Regions from separate parts of the Homo sapiens genome. Here region 2 is linked to region 1. The links are contacts of gene promoters, found by promoter capture Hi-C in human tissues and cell types (Jung and others, 2019). All regions are on one chromosome and are shown on one strand. Each heading gives the region's core, a stretch centred on a gene start or on the middle of the fragment in contact. The rest is flanking DNA. Distances are from core to core; before and after follow the strand shown.

Evidence for each region. Contacts are between HindIII fragments. The study calls those that stand out against the background at their distance.
Region 2: a fragment that was not itself captured here is called in contact with the fragment with the promoter of ARL8B in region 1 in 1 of the 25 tissues and cell types used here (thymus).

Annotation. Positions count from the first base shown.
Region 1 is chr3:5,120,902-5,128,195 of GRCh38, reverse strand. It overlaps ARL8B (ARF like GTPase 8B), which reads right to left and starts at 5,904. Exons shown (of 7, transcript NM_018184.3): 1 at 5,608-5,904. The coding sequence starts at 5,730. It overlaps LOC124906212 (a long non-coding RNA gene), which reads right to left and starts at 5,137. Exons shown (of 2, transcript XR_007095800.1): 1 at 4,480-5,137. RefSeq lists silencers at 2,158-2,452, 5,839-6,098. The HindIII fragment of the contact is 21,507 bases long and covers 2,587-7,294 here.
Region 2 is chr3:4,798,504-4,805,833 of GRCh38, reverse strand. ITPR1 (inositol 1,4,5-trisphosphate receptor type 1) reads right to left here. Exons shown (of 62, transcript NM_001378452.1): 54 at 5,234-5,409. Among named protein-coding and RNA genes, the nearest start is that of EGOT, 51 kb to the right of the region's middle. The HindIII fragment of the contact is 7,959 bases long and covers 288-7,330 here.

The DNA of each region.
Region 1 (7,294 bases), core at 4,655-7,154:
AATTATTTCTGCTTTTTTTTTTTTTTTTTTTTTGAGACGGATTTTCACTCTGTTGCCCAGGCTGGAGTGCAGTCGCTCAATTTCGGCTCAACGCAACCTCCGCCTCCCAGGTTCAAGCAATTCTCCTGCCTCAGCCTCCTGAGTAACGCCAGGCTAATTTTTGTATTTTTAGTACAGATGGGGTTTCATCATGTTGGTCAGGCTGGTCTCAAACTCCTGACCTCATGATCCGGCCGCCTTGGCCTCCCAAAGTGCTGGGATTACAGGCGTAAGCCATTGCGCCTGGCCCTCCGCTTTTTTTTTTTTTTTTTTTTTTTTTTTTTGAGACGGAGTCTCGCTCTGTTGCCCAGGCTGGAGTGCAGTGGCGCAATCTTGGCTCACTGCAAGCTCTGCCTCCAAGGTTCACGCCATTCTCCTACCTCAGCCTCCCGAGTAGCTGGGACTACAGGTGCCCACCACCACACCCAGCTAATTATTTGTATTTTTAGTAGAGACGGGGTTTCACCGCATTAGCCAGGATGGTCTTGATCTCCCTCTGCTTTTTAAAGATACTAAAAGTAGTTCAACAACTCAGTAATGCCTGTTAGCCAGTTATTTAAATATCCAAACATAATATTCCACTCTTACTTTCCACAGATTATCATTCCTTCTCCTAATTCATGTTCATAGATAAATATATAGTCCTCAAATGTTAGTCAGTATGCTTAAGATGCCTGGATTTAAAATGCTCTCTCTAGAGAGACACACAGTACTCATTACGTCTGTATTTCTTATTCTATAAAGCAAACATTTCATATACGATACAAAAACTGCAGCTGATTTTTTAAATTAAATTAAATACAAAAAAGATGTTTAATGGATTAAGATCTCCCAATCCACAGTTCTATGGTTCTAACCTCAGCTGGATCTAAAGAGGTGGGAAAAGTAGAAAGTACACTGGCCCCAGATTCTAATTCTATCTCTGCTACGAATTAGCTTTGTTGCCTTGGAATTCCACTTAACCTCACTGGATCTGCTAGCCACATCTAAAAAATGAGGGGAAAATTAGACTACTTAATCAAGGTTTCTACAAACTCTTTAAAAAATGATTCTAGGTTCATATTTCTACAGTCTTCCCAAATATCTTCTTTTCCTAATTCTCAGCAGTAATAAACTTTCCCTTGGATTAACCTTTCAGGTATCAACAATGTGCAAAAGTGTAGACAAATTTTTATACTTCCATTTAAAAAATACATAATGTCCATAAGATTTATCCTATATTATTTTGGCAAATCCTATTAGATATTTTTTAATAACTATAACATATCTAAAAGCCCCAGTTAAAAATAAAGATTACTCAATATACATTACACATATAGGCACATGACTTATTGTGCAATAACTGCCAGAACAGTTAGCAATGGAAAAAATACTTCATTCCTTGACACTAATCAGAAAAGACAAGACTAGGGTGTTTCTTTTTTATAATGTTCAAAACAAAAGAGAACACTACATATATCAAGTGTCTCTACATAAAACTGGATTAAATTAGGTATCATTTCAGTTTTAAAATCCTAAGGAAAGGCATTCTAAGTCTGAGCATTCTGTAACTAAGCTGCATTATCTTTTAGACTCAAACCAAACCCTACATATAATAGTAATTCAGTCTCATGAACCTTTTGAGTAAGTTAAATGACATCTATTAAATCTTCCTTAATGTTTAAGGCACATGTAGTGACATTTTAATGTTTACAAAATGTTGATTTTTACAAAAAGAAAATTGGCTTCAGCTGAAGCTTTTCATACCTGAGAAGTCGCTTCTTAAATGTGAATAAGTAAATGGTCACCTTTCTAGAGTGACACATAGTACTCAATACATCTGTATTTCTGATTCTATAAAGCAACTATTTTATATACAATACAAAAAGTGCAGCTGATTTTTTAAAAGGCTAAACTTACTATTTTGGACACATTGTTTCTACCTAAAAATCTCTAAAATCATCTTTAATCACTAACTTGGATTTTAATCACTACATCCTCAACATATTCTATAAGAATCAGGGGTTAGGTTAGAGCCTTGAGGTTAAAAAAAAAAAAAAGTATGAAATTCACTGAGGGGGTCCCTTTCAGCATCTTAAAAGCCACAGCCAATTACAGCCCAGATGTCTTTTTTCTTTTTTAAATTAATATTACTTTTAATTGACAAATCATAATTGTATACATTTATGGAGTACAATGAGATGTTCTGATACATGTTTACAGTGTGGAATGACTAATTCAAGCCAATTACACATCCATCACCTTATCTTTGTGACTTTTTTTTTCTTAACTGAAGCTACCCACACCATTACAATTTTAAAAAGAATAGTCTAATGATAACAGTGGGCTGGGCACAGTGGCTCACGCCTGTAATCCCAGCATTTTGGGAGACCAAGGCAGGCATATTACTTGAGACCAGGAGTTCGAGAACAGCCTGCCCAACATGGTGAAACCCCGTCTCTACTAAAAATACAAAAATTAGCTGGGCATGGTGGCAGTCGCCTGTAGTCCCAGCTACTCGGGAGGCTGAGGCACGAGAATAGCTTGAACCCAGGAGGCAGAGGTTGCAGTGAGCCAAGATCATGCCACTGCACTCCAGCCTGGGCAACACAGCGGGACTCCGTCTCAAAAAAAAAAAAAAGATAATGGTGGAGCCACTGGTTCACTTTGACTTCAACAGCTTTGCAGAAGTTTTGTTGTTGTTAAATATAATAATCTAATGGTGGGGGCGGGGCAGGGGGGAACACATGATGCGATTACTTTCCCCAATCCATAAATCCACTACTGCAGCCCACATCTGGATAGATACAGTGATTCAAAGTAGAAAATGATACCAGTTGAGTCCCTTCTCAGTATTTTTCAAGCCATCGTTCCTGCATTAAACAGGTACGCCCAATTACAAATAACAACAGTTACCATCTACCTATCCCCTTCTGTGGGCCAGTATGAGTGCTAGCCACTTAACATCTTTCATGTCATTTAATCCCTAGAGCAACTCTGTAAGAAACATATCATTACCTCCATTTAATAGATGGGAAAGTAAGGACTCAAAGAGGATGTAAGGCTGCTAAGCGGCAGAGCCAGATTTCAAATCCAGGGCTGTCTGACTTCAAAGGTCATGCTCATTAAGCTACACTGTCTACTGAAAACAGAAGCATAAAAATCACCAAGAAGTTTCTCAAAGATTTGCTCAACTTTTTAGAGTTCCCAAGCATAACAACTCAACTGCAACAAATACAACTGGCTGTATTAATACACCTATCCACATGAAACATTAATTCCATGTTGTCAAAGAGCAAGTTTTACAAGATGACTCCAATTCTCATCTCAAGGGGATATGAGAAAATTTACAGTTAACTGAGCTCAACTTCACTCAAGCTTATGCCTCATCTTTTCCATATTATATAAAAGCTCTAGCAGGCTTATAATCCCAGTATGCTGGGAGGCCAAGGCAGGAAGACTGCTTGAGGCCAGGAGCTCAAGACCAGCCCTGGCAACATAGCAAGAGCCCGTCTTTATAAAAAATAAAAATTAAAAATAAATAGCGAGCCATGGTGGTAGCACATGCCTGTAGTCCCAGCTACTTGGGAGGCTGAGACAGGGAAGATCACATAAGCCCAGGAGTTGGAGGCTGCAGTGAGCTACGACTGCACCACTGCACTCCAGTCTGGGTGAAAGCTCAAGACCCTGTCTCCAAAAAAGAAAAGAAAAAAATTCTAATATAAATATGTAACCCGAAGTTCATGTTTCCTCATTAATTTTAGTGGTATTAGGCCAGGAACGGTGGCTCATGCCTGTAATGCCAGCACTTTGGGAGGCCGAGGCAGGAGGCTCGCTTGAGCCCAGGAGTTCAAGGCTGGCCTGGCAACATAGGAAGATCTTGTCTCTACCAGAAAAAAAAAAAAAAAAAAAAAAAAAAAATTAGTGGTATTAGATACACATTCCACTCTTCTATTCCTGCGGAAAGATAGTCATTCCAAGCGCAAAAAATCATAATATTACAATAGGAGGCCAGGCGCGGTGGCTCACACCTGCAATCCCAGCATTTTAAGAGGCCGAGTCGGGCGGATCACATGAGGTCAGGAGTTTTGAGACTAGCCTGAGCAACAAAGCAAAACCCATCTCTACTAAAAGTAATTAGCCGGGCGTGGTGGAGGACGTCTGTAATCCCAGCTACGCAGGAGGTGGAGGCAGGAAAATCGCTTGAACCTGGGAGGTGGAGGTTGCAGTGAGCTGAGATCTCGCCACTGCACTCCAGCCTGGGGGACAAAGCGAGACTCCGTCTCAAGAAAAAAAATTAATAATAATACTACTAGAAAAGGAGCCGAACAACAAGCAGGTAAATCTTCCTTATATACATCATTCTTCAAAGGACTTTGGGGTTTCTGCTAATCTCTTTTTCTCCAAGACTTACTCATTCCTGTTGCTTTATTAGTGCAAGGACTAAGAATCACAAGTTACCTATTTTCTCAAACATGAAAGCTGTGTTTGAATCATCTTGTGTAACCTAACCAGTCGGACAGCTAATCTTCAGGATTTCAACAGTCATCGAAAAGGTGGAAGAACTGCTGCCATCTCTCTTCAGAACAGTTCTAAAACTCCCCTGGCGTGTACAAGCCACTACCAGCTAAAACTGAGTCACAACAACTCTTGGGCTCTAAATAAAGATCGAGGCGAAATCTTTCACTCCTATTTATTTCCCAACCAACCAAACAAGCAAAACGAAACAATCACCTTTCTACTCAATCATTGCTGAACAAACACCACATTCTATGTAAGTCCTCAGTGCAATTTTCCTTCCACCCATTCCCTAGGCCTGCTAAGCTATGTTCCTGCCCAGTACCTTCTTTTCTCTTCAAGTGAAAAACACCATTTAAAGACCAACTCCTCTTTCGCAGGGTAGTTAACTTTATGCTAACTGCAGATCCATCTTATCTAGTCGCTTAAGACAATTAACTCTTAGCTTAATAAATACTATGTATTGTGGGCTAGCTGGAGCTCAGCAATGAGCTTGGTCTCCGCGCCTGGGGGACGGGTGAAAACAAGTAACTGAATTAGATGGGACCAGCGGCCCACAGAATTCAGGAAGGCGCTCACACTGGTCTCCCGCTTTCACAATGGGTCTATTGGTCCAAAGTGGCAACTTAAGAGAGGCTCTTAATGCTTACGCTTTCTCGTACGGCTGACGGATTTGCCAAATCCCACCCTTTGGGAAAGTGACAGACTGGACTTAACTCTTTGGCTGCCCCTACTGGGCAAACCCAAGGGAAACCCCAATCCCCAAGCGCTTTAAAAATGTGACGAGTTCAATTTAACTCTTTCCGAGCCCCCGCGGCGTTGAGGACACAGCCCTTGGAAAATGTCTACACTGACTTAACCCTTCCGCTGCCGATCTCAGTGCTACTCCCCGCGCCGCCAACACGCGGGAAATTCCAAATGCTGGCCCTCGGGAGATGACAGGCCCAGCTTCGCACGCCCCCCGCCATCAGTCCCATCGCGCCGAGGGGGGCCCCAACTCAGGCCTTGGAGAAGCGCCGGGCCGGACTCCTGGCTGCGGAGCCCCGGGCGAGTGAGTGGGCGGGCGCTCACCGCGATGACATTGACGAAGGTGGTCTTGCCCGAGTACTGCAGCCCCACGAGCGTCAGCTCCATCTCTTCCTTCCAGAAGAGCGAACGGAACCAGTCCAGCAGGCGGGAGATGAGCGCCAGCATGATGGCGGCCGGGAGCGAGAACGGACGGGAGGACGGACGAGCGGCGGCGTCGACGACTTCCACACGAGCGGGCCTCCGCCCGGACCCTCCAACGGCTCCTTGGTGCCCCGGCGCGACACGGGCGGACACCGGCGGGCGGCAGCAGCCAGACCCAGGAAGCCGAGCGGATCATATGACTCGCCCTACCCCCCACGCCCGTCCCGGCGCCGCCGTCGGCACCCACGGCAAGAGCGGCGCGGCCAATCCGGCCAGGCCCGCCCGCCGCTGGCATCGCCACCTGGTGGGCATGCTCCGCAGCACAGCGTACCCTCGGGCCCCCTTGAGGCTTTCTCTACATTCATTCATTGTTGGTTCATTCGTCATTCATCCACTTATACATTCGTTAATTCATTCATTCATTTTTTGCTATAATTGTTCATTAACAATCTGCAGGAAGACTTCAAGACTCTGGAAGAGTTGGCGTGGAATAAAAATTCCTGTCCTACATTTTTGGTAGTAGCAAAAGATAGTGTTAACTTAAAAATGACACCGTTTATAAATTTAGAAAGGAGAGCATTATTTCTTAAGAAGGGGATTATAAGCTGTAGGCAGGACGTGCAGCCTCGGGCCAAAAAAAACAAAAGTAAGCACTTTGAGAGAGGGAAGGGTGCAACAAGAATTTATATTGAGGAGTTGGCCAAGTAAACATATTTAACTTATGGAAGGAGCTATTAATATGTATGAAGGTGGTCTTACACACATAGTGAACAAATCTGTATGTTGCATATGACCTATGTTCATTTGGGGTGGCGACTTAACATTTAAATGTATTATAATCAGGCAGGGCGCGGTGGCTCATGCCTGTAATCCCAGCACTTTGGGAGGCAAAGGTGGGCAGATCACCTGAGGTCAGGAGTTTGAGACCAGCCTGACCAACATGGTGAAGCCCCATCTCTACTAAAAATACAAAATTAGCCGAACGTGGTGGCATGCACCTGTAGCCTCAGCTGCTTGGGAAGCCGAGGTGGGAGAATTGTGTGAACCCAGGAGGCGAAGGTTGCAGTGAGCTGAGATCATGCCACTGCACTTCAGCCTGGGTGATAGAGTGAGACCCTCGTCTCAAAAAACAACAATTAAAAAATAAATAAAGTAAAAGTATTATAATCAGGCCCTCCACATCAGAAAGTGAATCAGGGACGGGAAAGGTATTGAAGTGCTTGGCCTCTGTAAAACCAGCCAGAACTGGGCTGGGCGCGGTGGCTCACAGCCTGTAATCCAAACACTTTGAGAGGCTGAGGCAGGTGGATCAGGAGGTCAGGAGTTTGAGACCAGCCTGGCCAACAAGGTGAAACCCCGTCTCTACTAAAGATACAAAAAATTAGCCCAGGCCGGGTGCAGTGGCTCATGCCTGTAATCCCAGCACTTTGGGAGGTCAAGGCGGGCAGATCACCTCAGGTTGGGAGTTCAAGACCAGCCCGACCAACATGGTGAAACCCCGTCTCTACTAAAAATACAAAAATTAGCGGGACATGGTGGCACGCGCCTGTAATCCCAGCTATGCTGGAGGCTGAGGCAGGAGAATCGC
Region 2 (7,330 bases), core at 3,018-5,517, 320 kb after region 1:
AAATTAACACATACTGAGATTATGATTTTCAAAATGAGATATGAATCATTTCTAACATTCTTGTATGAGTTAGTCAAACACAGAAGTCACCTCAATCCACGAACCCTGTGATCAGCATGATCAAAAGCATTTTCTGAATTTGTTACATTCTAGGCACTGTAAGGTGGCAATTTAATGAGCAGTGATCAGTTCTTGCCTTTCAATGCTCCTAAGTTCACAGGGAAAACAACAATTTTCTTGGGGGAAAAAAAATATAAGGGACTTCAGGATGAGTTCTATTCCCCTGCCCTCTCTTCTGGGAATAACTTCTAATTTTCCTTTGGGGACCATTCCTCTCTGAGTAGCAGTCTTTGAGGTCTGGGTGGGGCTCCAACCTGGCCATCACAATATTGTATTCCCCTGGGTACAATGACTGGTTTAGAGATAGACACAGGACCAAATGGAGCCAATGATGTCCACTGAGCTCTTTCTTGGGATTGCAGCCAAAGATAATTTTGTTCTTTCCCACTGACCTTGAACCTGAGCAGCTGTGAACTCTGGAGCTGCCACATTACCAACACTGAAGGCACCACCAGCACTGGGGACACAGAGCCAAAAGATGGCAAGGAGGAACTGGGCCCTGAGGACACTGTGTGAGCCCCTGTATCAGCTGTGCCTGAAGCGAGGCTGTTGGTTTCTTGGTCAAAATGAACCAATACATATTCTCCTTTGCTGAGGCTAGCATGGATTAGGTTTTCTGACATCTGCAACTGAAGGAGTCCTAACTGAACTACTGTGCAATATAGTCTCACCTTTGATAGAAACCCCAATGCCTGGAAGTCCATCTCTAGCAATATGTTGACAGAAAAACTTGGCTCAGGAGGAGGCCAGAGAGGGACCTCTCTGGATGCACTTGGTAAAACCATCTTCTGCTACTCTAGCTCCCTTGGCCACAGGTGCGGGGGAAATACTGCCAGTTAATCTGGTAGGTCGGTGTAAGTGAGCTTCTCGGCAATCAGATAAGCGAGGAAGCCGACACCCACAGATCGCTGCTGGCTTTCTCAGACAGGCTAAGCATTCAATCTGCCAATTTTTTCCAAAATTCTCACCTTTGCTAGTGGAGGGGATTTCAGAGGGTGGGAAAGTATCACTGATTCTGGATGATCCATGATGATGTGGTTTCAGGGAGAGGCAGATGGTGCCCTGGGTGACATCACACATTACAGCACCTCAAACACACCCCAGATCCTGCCAACTTAACAACAGGGTGATCCACTTCACCTGAGTCCATTCTCCCCTCTAACTTCTGCCCTAGTTTTCTCCATTGCTTCCCCAGGAAATAGCTGCTATTTGTGGTCTCAGCCTGCGGCTGGACTCTGCTTGTTAGTCTTAGATCTGGCTTCCATCCCCACCTCTCAACAGAGACAGCTCATGTGAAGTCTCCAAGGATTCTGCGCACCCAGCAGTCTTCCCGTCTGCTCTTAGCATCTTTCCCAGCTCCCTGCGGCGTGACAAGTCTCCCAGCGCACCCTGCTCACCACTCTCCCAGCTGGGCTTTAGGACCCCACCTTCTCCTCCTCCAGCTCTCAGAACTCCAATATTCTCTCTCTGTCTCCGTCCACAGGTACTTTCCCTCTCCCATACATTCCATGTGGGTGTTTCTCTCTTTTAAAATTCACTCTAGGCGGGGCATGGTGGCTCACGCCTATAATCCCAGCACTTTGGGAGGCCGAGGCGGGTGGATTGCCTGAGCTCAGGAGTTCGCGACCAGCCTGGGCAACACGGTGAAACCTCGTCTCTACTAAAATACAAAAAATTAGCCAGGCATGGCGGCACACACCTGTAGTCCCAGCTACCTGGGAGGCTGAGGGAGGAGAATTGCTTGAACCCAGGAGGCGGAGGTTGCAGTGAGCCGAGATTGTACCACTGTACTCCAGCCTGGGTGACAGATCGAGACTCTGTCTCAAAAAAAATGTAAAATAAAATTTACTCTAAATAATTATTTATTATAGCTGTTTGCCCCCTACCAGCTTATGTTGTTGTAAATGGTAATTAATTATCTCAGTTGAGTCTTTCCCCCAACTGATTTGTGTTAAAGAAGTGATAACTGTGGAATGATTATCAGAGAAGGCCAGAGAAGAAAAGAACTAGACAGCCCATAGAAGACAGCCTCTGAAATACTGAACATTTTTTCTACCTAGTTGTTTATGTAATTCTTTTGTATTTCTTTCTTAAATGGTTTCCTCTCACTGCAGGCAATCCCTACATTCCCCTCCCCACACTGATCTCTCTCTGTAGTTCTGGTCATGTATTTCCAAATGCCGCAGCTCACGTTAACAGCGTGTCTTTCCACCTGAAGCCCAGTAGGTCAACGATGTAAATGCATTTTCACCCTGAAAAACTAAATCTTTGCATGACTTCATTTTAGATGGCCACATTATTCTTCTCCCAATCATTTGTGACTGAAAATTTGGAGTCATATTTGCCTCCTTCATTACCCAATCAAGACAGTGATACCCTCTTTGTCTGAAAAAGGGACCCAGAGTGGCAGTATGGTTTGGTTCTGTGTCCCCCCCAAATCTGTTAACTTGTAATCTCCAGTGTCAGAGGTGGGGCCTGGGGGGAGGTGACTGGATCATAAATAGTTTAGCGCCACCTGTCCCGGATACAGTATAGTGATAGAGAGCTGGTTGTTTAAAAGCGTGTAGCGCCTCCCCATCCGCTTCCTCCTGTTCCAGCTCCAACTTTGCTGCTTTTACTCCGCCATGAGTGAAAGCTCCCTGAGGCCTCCCCAGAAGCAGATGCTGCCATGCTTCCTGTACAGCTGCAAAACCTCAAGCCAATTAAACCTCTTTTCTTATAAATTACCGAGTCTCAGGCATTTTATAGCAATGTGAGAACGAACTAATAGAAGCACATTGCTTTCTGGGTGGGGTAAGGCTCTGACTCTGTGCCCACCATGTGTTACTATTTCCTCATCTCTCTTTCTCTCTTTCTTTCTTTCTCTTTCTTTCTTTCTTTTTTTTTTTAATCAGTCTCATTCTGTCACCCAGGCTGGAGTGAAGTGGCACCATCTCAGCCCACTGCAACCTCTGCCTCCCAGGTTCAAGAGATTCTCGTGCCTCAGCCTCCCAAGTAGCTGGGATTACAAGCATGCATTACTATGCCAGGCTAATTTTTGTATTTTTTTTTAGTAGAGAGGGGTTTCACATGCATACTGGCCAGGCTGGTCTTGAACTCCTGGCCTCAAGCAATTTTCCCGCCTTGGCCTCCCAAAGTGCTGGGATTACAGGCTTGAGCCACGGTGCCCAGCCTGTTTCCTTCCCATTTCTGACGTCCATACCTTCCTTCTTTCTTCTACACTATGTCCAAGACTCAGGCTTCTCAAACCTAATCAAAGCGTCGCTACAGCCCCTAAAAAGCCTCCTTGCCTCTAGTCCCTCCTGATGAATCCACATAACAAGCCATACTGAATGCATTTTCTCAAGAATACTTCTTTGTATGGACCATTTCTTGGCTCAAAAACACCACAGGCACTTTCCACTACTGGGAACAGAGTTTCCAACATACATTCTATACAACACTAATCTCAAGTGATACTTACAAAAAACTGCAGGAAAATAAGTTTGGGAAACAGAAAGACACTGTTTTCCTTGGAGGTTCCTAATCCATATTAGTACATTAAAGTCTGTGAGGAAGCCTGCAGTAATGAAACCTTTCATTGTGTTTACCTCAGCATTTTTCATGCGGATTCAATCACGGAACCCTTTTTTCACCTCATATTTATCAACGTGGAATATGCTCTGGGAATGCTGACCTGGGGGATGAAGTCCAGTTGCTTTATCCTAAAATTCAGTGCTGCAAGTGACTTACACAGGATCAGTTCCTACTGATCACTACTGAACCACGAATGAGGTGAAACTCTTTATTTATTGTCTGTTGATAACATCCCGAGCTTTCCCACTGTTCTGCTCTGGCCTATGGGGCCCACGAAACCAAAGAACTCTTCTCAATCCCCGCTTCATGGCCAGATCCTCTCCATTCCCTTTTTTTTAAAAATTATTTATTTATTTGTTCATTTATTTATTTTTGAGATGGAGTCTCCCTTTGTCACCCAGGCTGGAGTGCAGTGGTGCCATCTTAGCTCACTACAACCTCCACCTCTCAGGTTCAAGTGATTCTCCTGCCTCAGTCTCCCGAGTAGCTAGGATTATAGGCGCATGCTACCAAACCCAGCTAATTTTTGTATTTTTAGTAGAGATAGGGTTCTGCCATGTTAGCCAGGCTGGTCTCAAATTCCTGATCTCAAGTGATCTGCTCACCCTGGCCTCCCAAAGTGCTGGGATTATAGATGTGAGCCACCGAGCCTGGCCCTCCATTCCTTAAGCCCTAACTTCCATCCTGCCTCCTCCCCGCTGTAAGCTTTTCAGCTTGACATGACCTGTTCTCTAAAGTCCTTGCTGCCTGTGCCATTTGAATACTCCCTTTGGGGCTTTTGCTGTTGCACTGAATTACTATATTATTTTGCGATATCACTTCCAGTTTTGCATGGGACCTCAGCTTCCTTATATACTCAGGGCAGAAACCCCTGGAAGGCATTTTTAGATCCTCCAGTGCCTCACATGTCCAAATTTTCTCCTTCCCTTCACAAGGAAACCTCTCCAATGTATGGTTTTATATCAGTTTGTCCTAAGAATTCTCCCAGAGATGAAATTGGCTTCTATCTTTCAATGGTAGTGAAACAGCATTTCTAAATGTCACCACTGACTTTTAAAGAATTGTCTCTGCTTCTCCTCTTCCCTCTCCACCTGCCCTGTCTCTGTATTTGGCCAGGCCCTCTTACCTATCCCCTCTTTTCTATGTGGCCCTTTCCAGAAGTGGGTACGGTGTTAATATTTGATCATTTCACTTATTGTCTAAAATCTTCTGTCCCAACAAACCTTTGACCAGATTGGCAAAACTAACTTAAATCTCAAAGCACTACCACTTTTTCTGCCTATCTCCTGACAGGGATAGTCCCTAAAAGTGAAAGTGCTGATGCCCAAGGGATCCATTACAAGGCTCACTGCACCACGCGGAGGTCAAGAGGGAGACGTCCACCTGCAGCCATCCCCTGCTTCTGGCTATTTAAACAGTTGCCCCAAACAATAATTTTCTGGACTGAAAGCACAGGCCAGGATTCTAGAAACCAGAGTGCAAGGCATTCCTATTAATCTGCAAACAAAACAGTGGCAAGGAAGGTATTCACACTTACATTGAAAGCGCCCAGAAGAAACAACGTGGGTTGTAACCCGACTGAAAATATCAGTCGTAGAATTGTGGAGGCAATTAAGGCCCGGATGCCATGGGGCTTGGGGAGGGCAATGACGATGGCCAGAGAGATGAGCATGGCTGTCCACAGGAGTCCCGACCAGTGGGGCTCCAGGGTTCCTGCAAGGACAAAACAGGGTTCTCTCACAAATCTGTGCCTTCACTGAGTACAGGGGACAGACCTAAAACATGCACTGTTACAGATTCCTCAATAACTTTTTTGGCTTACCAGTCCCAACTCTCACCTCAAATTCTCTGCCCCATCCATAACCAGTCCCATCAGCATTTTTTGACCTCCAAGCCTCCACACATGCTCCTTCTGCTGGGAAGTTCTTCCCTTCTCATTCATCTCAGGTCTTAGCTTTGACATTACTTCTTCCAGGAAGCCTCCCCCAATCCCCTTCCTCCCCACAAAAACATGTCAGGAGTTCCCTCCTCCTCCGTACTCCCTGCTTCCAGTCATCCCTACAGGACACTATTTCCTAATGGTCAGTTTACTTGTCTCTCTCTCACCAGATTGCACATTCCCCAGGGGAAGTACCTGGTGCCTGGCAGGTACTCACGAAAAGCTCGTTCGAGAAATAAAACTCATGCATGTGTCACACTTCACTCAAAGAAGGCGACGTGGAAGCCTAAACTTAATTTCTATTAAAAGTATGCAAAGGAAAACTGCAGGTCCCCTGCCTGAATCAGATTTCTCCAAGGGAAGGAGAAAGGCAACTTCCGTGTCATGAGCATCATGCTACAATTAGATTATCCCTGCAGTCAAAGAGCTTATACCAATTTTTGTCATCTCTTGCTACTGCAAGTTCTATTTAGAGTGTCCCACGAGACGGCTTGGTTATATAACATGAGCCAACACGGCTAAAAATATAGTTCTGTAAAACACTCATTAAAAAAAAAACACCCCTATTTCAAATGCTGTCACATTTTGAGTCTCCTTCAGATGTAAACAAGCAGCACTACATGATTAAGGCCACTTATATAAAGGAGCTTCACTTCTTCAGAGATGCTTGGATTGTGGCACCACTGGGGAGGAGACACCTTTGCAGGGCACAGCTCTTCCACCAGCTGCTGGCTGCCCTAGTTCATTGAGTCCACGCCTGCGGAGATTCAGCCTCACTTTAACAACTGTTCCCCCCAGCCCAGCCACTTACCTCTTCCCTTTTGAAATCCTTCAAAAGGCAAAGCTGATTGGGAATGGGGACAAAGAGGCAGAGGTTTCTCAGAAATTCAAGAAGTGCACATTGAGGCACATGTGCCGCTTTCTACGCATTTAACAATTGTTAGACATCGTGTCAAGCCCTTGATGTTGATGATCATTTATTCATCCTACTGTCCCCGGTCTACTCTAAAGGAAACTGAGTCTCAGGTTACATTTCTTGCCCAAAGTGATGCAGCAAATGGCTGCAGACCATTTGCCTCTGAAGTCGATGGTCCTTAATCAATATTTTAAAAAATCCATGCATTTTAAGTGTAAAATTTGGTGAATCTTGGCAGTTTATATAGTCATGTGACCACCGCATGTAATTGTCACCACAGTCAAGATACAGAACATTTTTATCACTCTAAAAGTCTCCTTGTGCCTCTTTGCAGGTGATGCCTTGCCCCATCCCTACCCCCAGCTACCACTGATCTAATAGTGTCAGTCCCTATAGCTTTGCACTTTCTAGAATTTCATAAAAATGGGAAAATAATCCTATCAGGTAGTCCTTTGTGCTTGACTTCTTTCACTGAGCAAGTTTTTAAGATGCATCCAGGTTACCATGTATGTATTGATACTTTGTACTTTTTATTGCTGACTATATTATAGTATGGATATATTACAATTTATTTGTCCAGTTAACAATCAATGAGTTTCCAGTTTGGAGTGATTACAAATAATGCTACTAGAAACATTCATGTTCAATTCTTGGAGTGGACATATTTTCATTTCACTTGGACAAACATAGAGAAGTAGAATGTTGGATCCTACAGATATGTTTAACTTTAAAAGACAATACCAAACTGTTTTCCAAGGTGAATGTATCACACTGCCTTC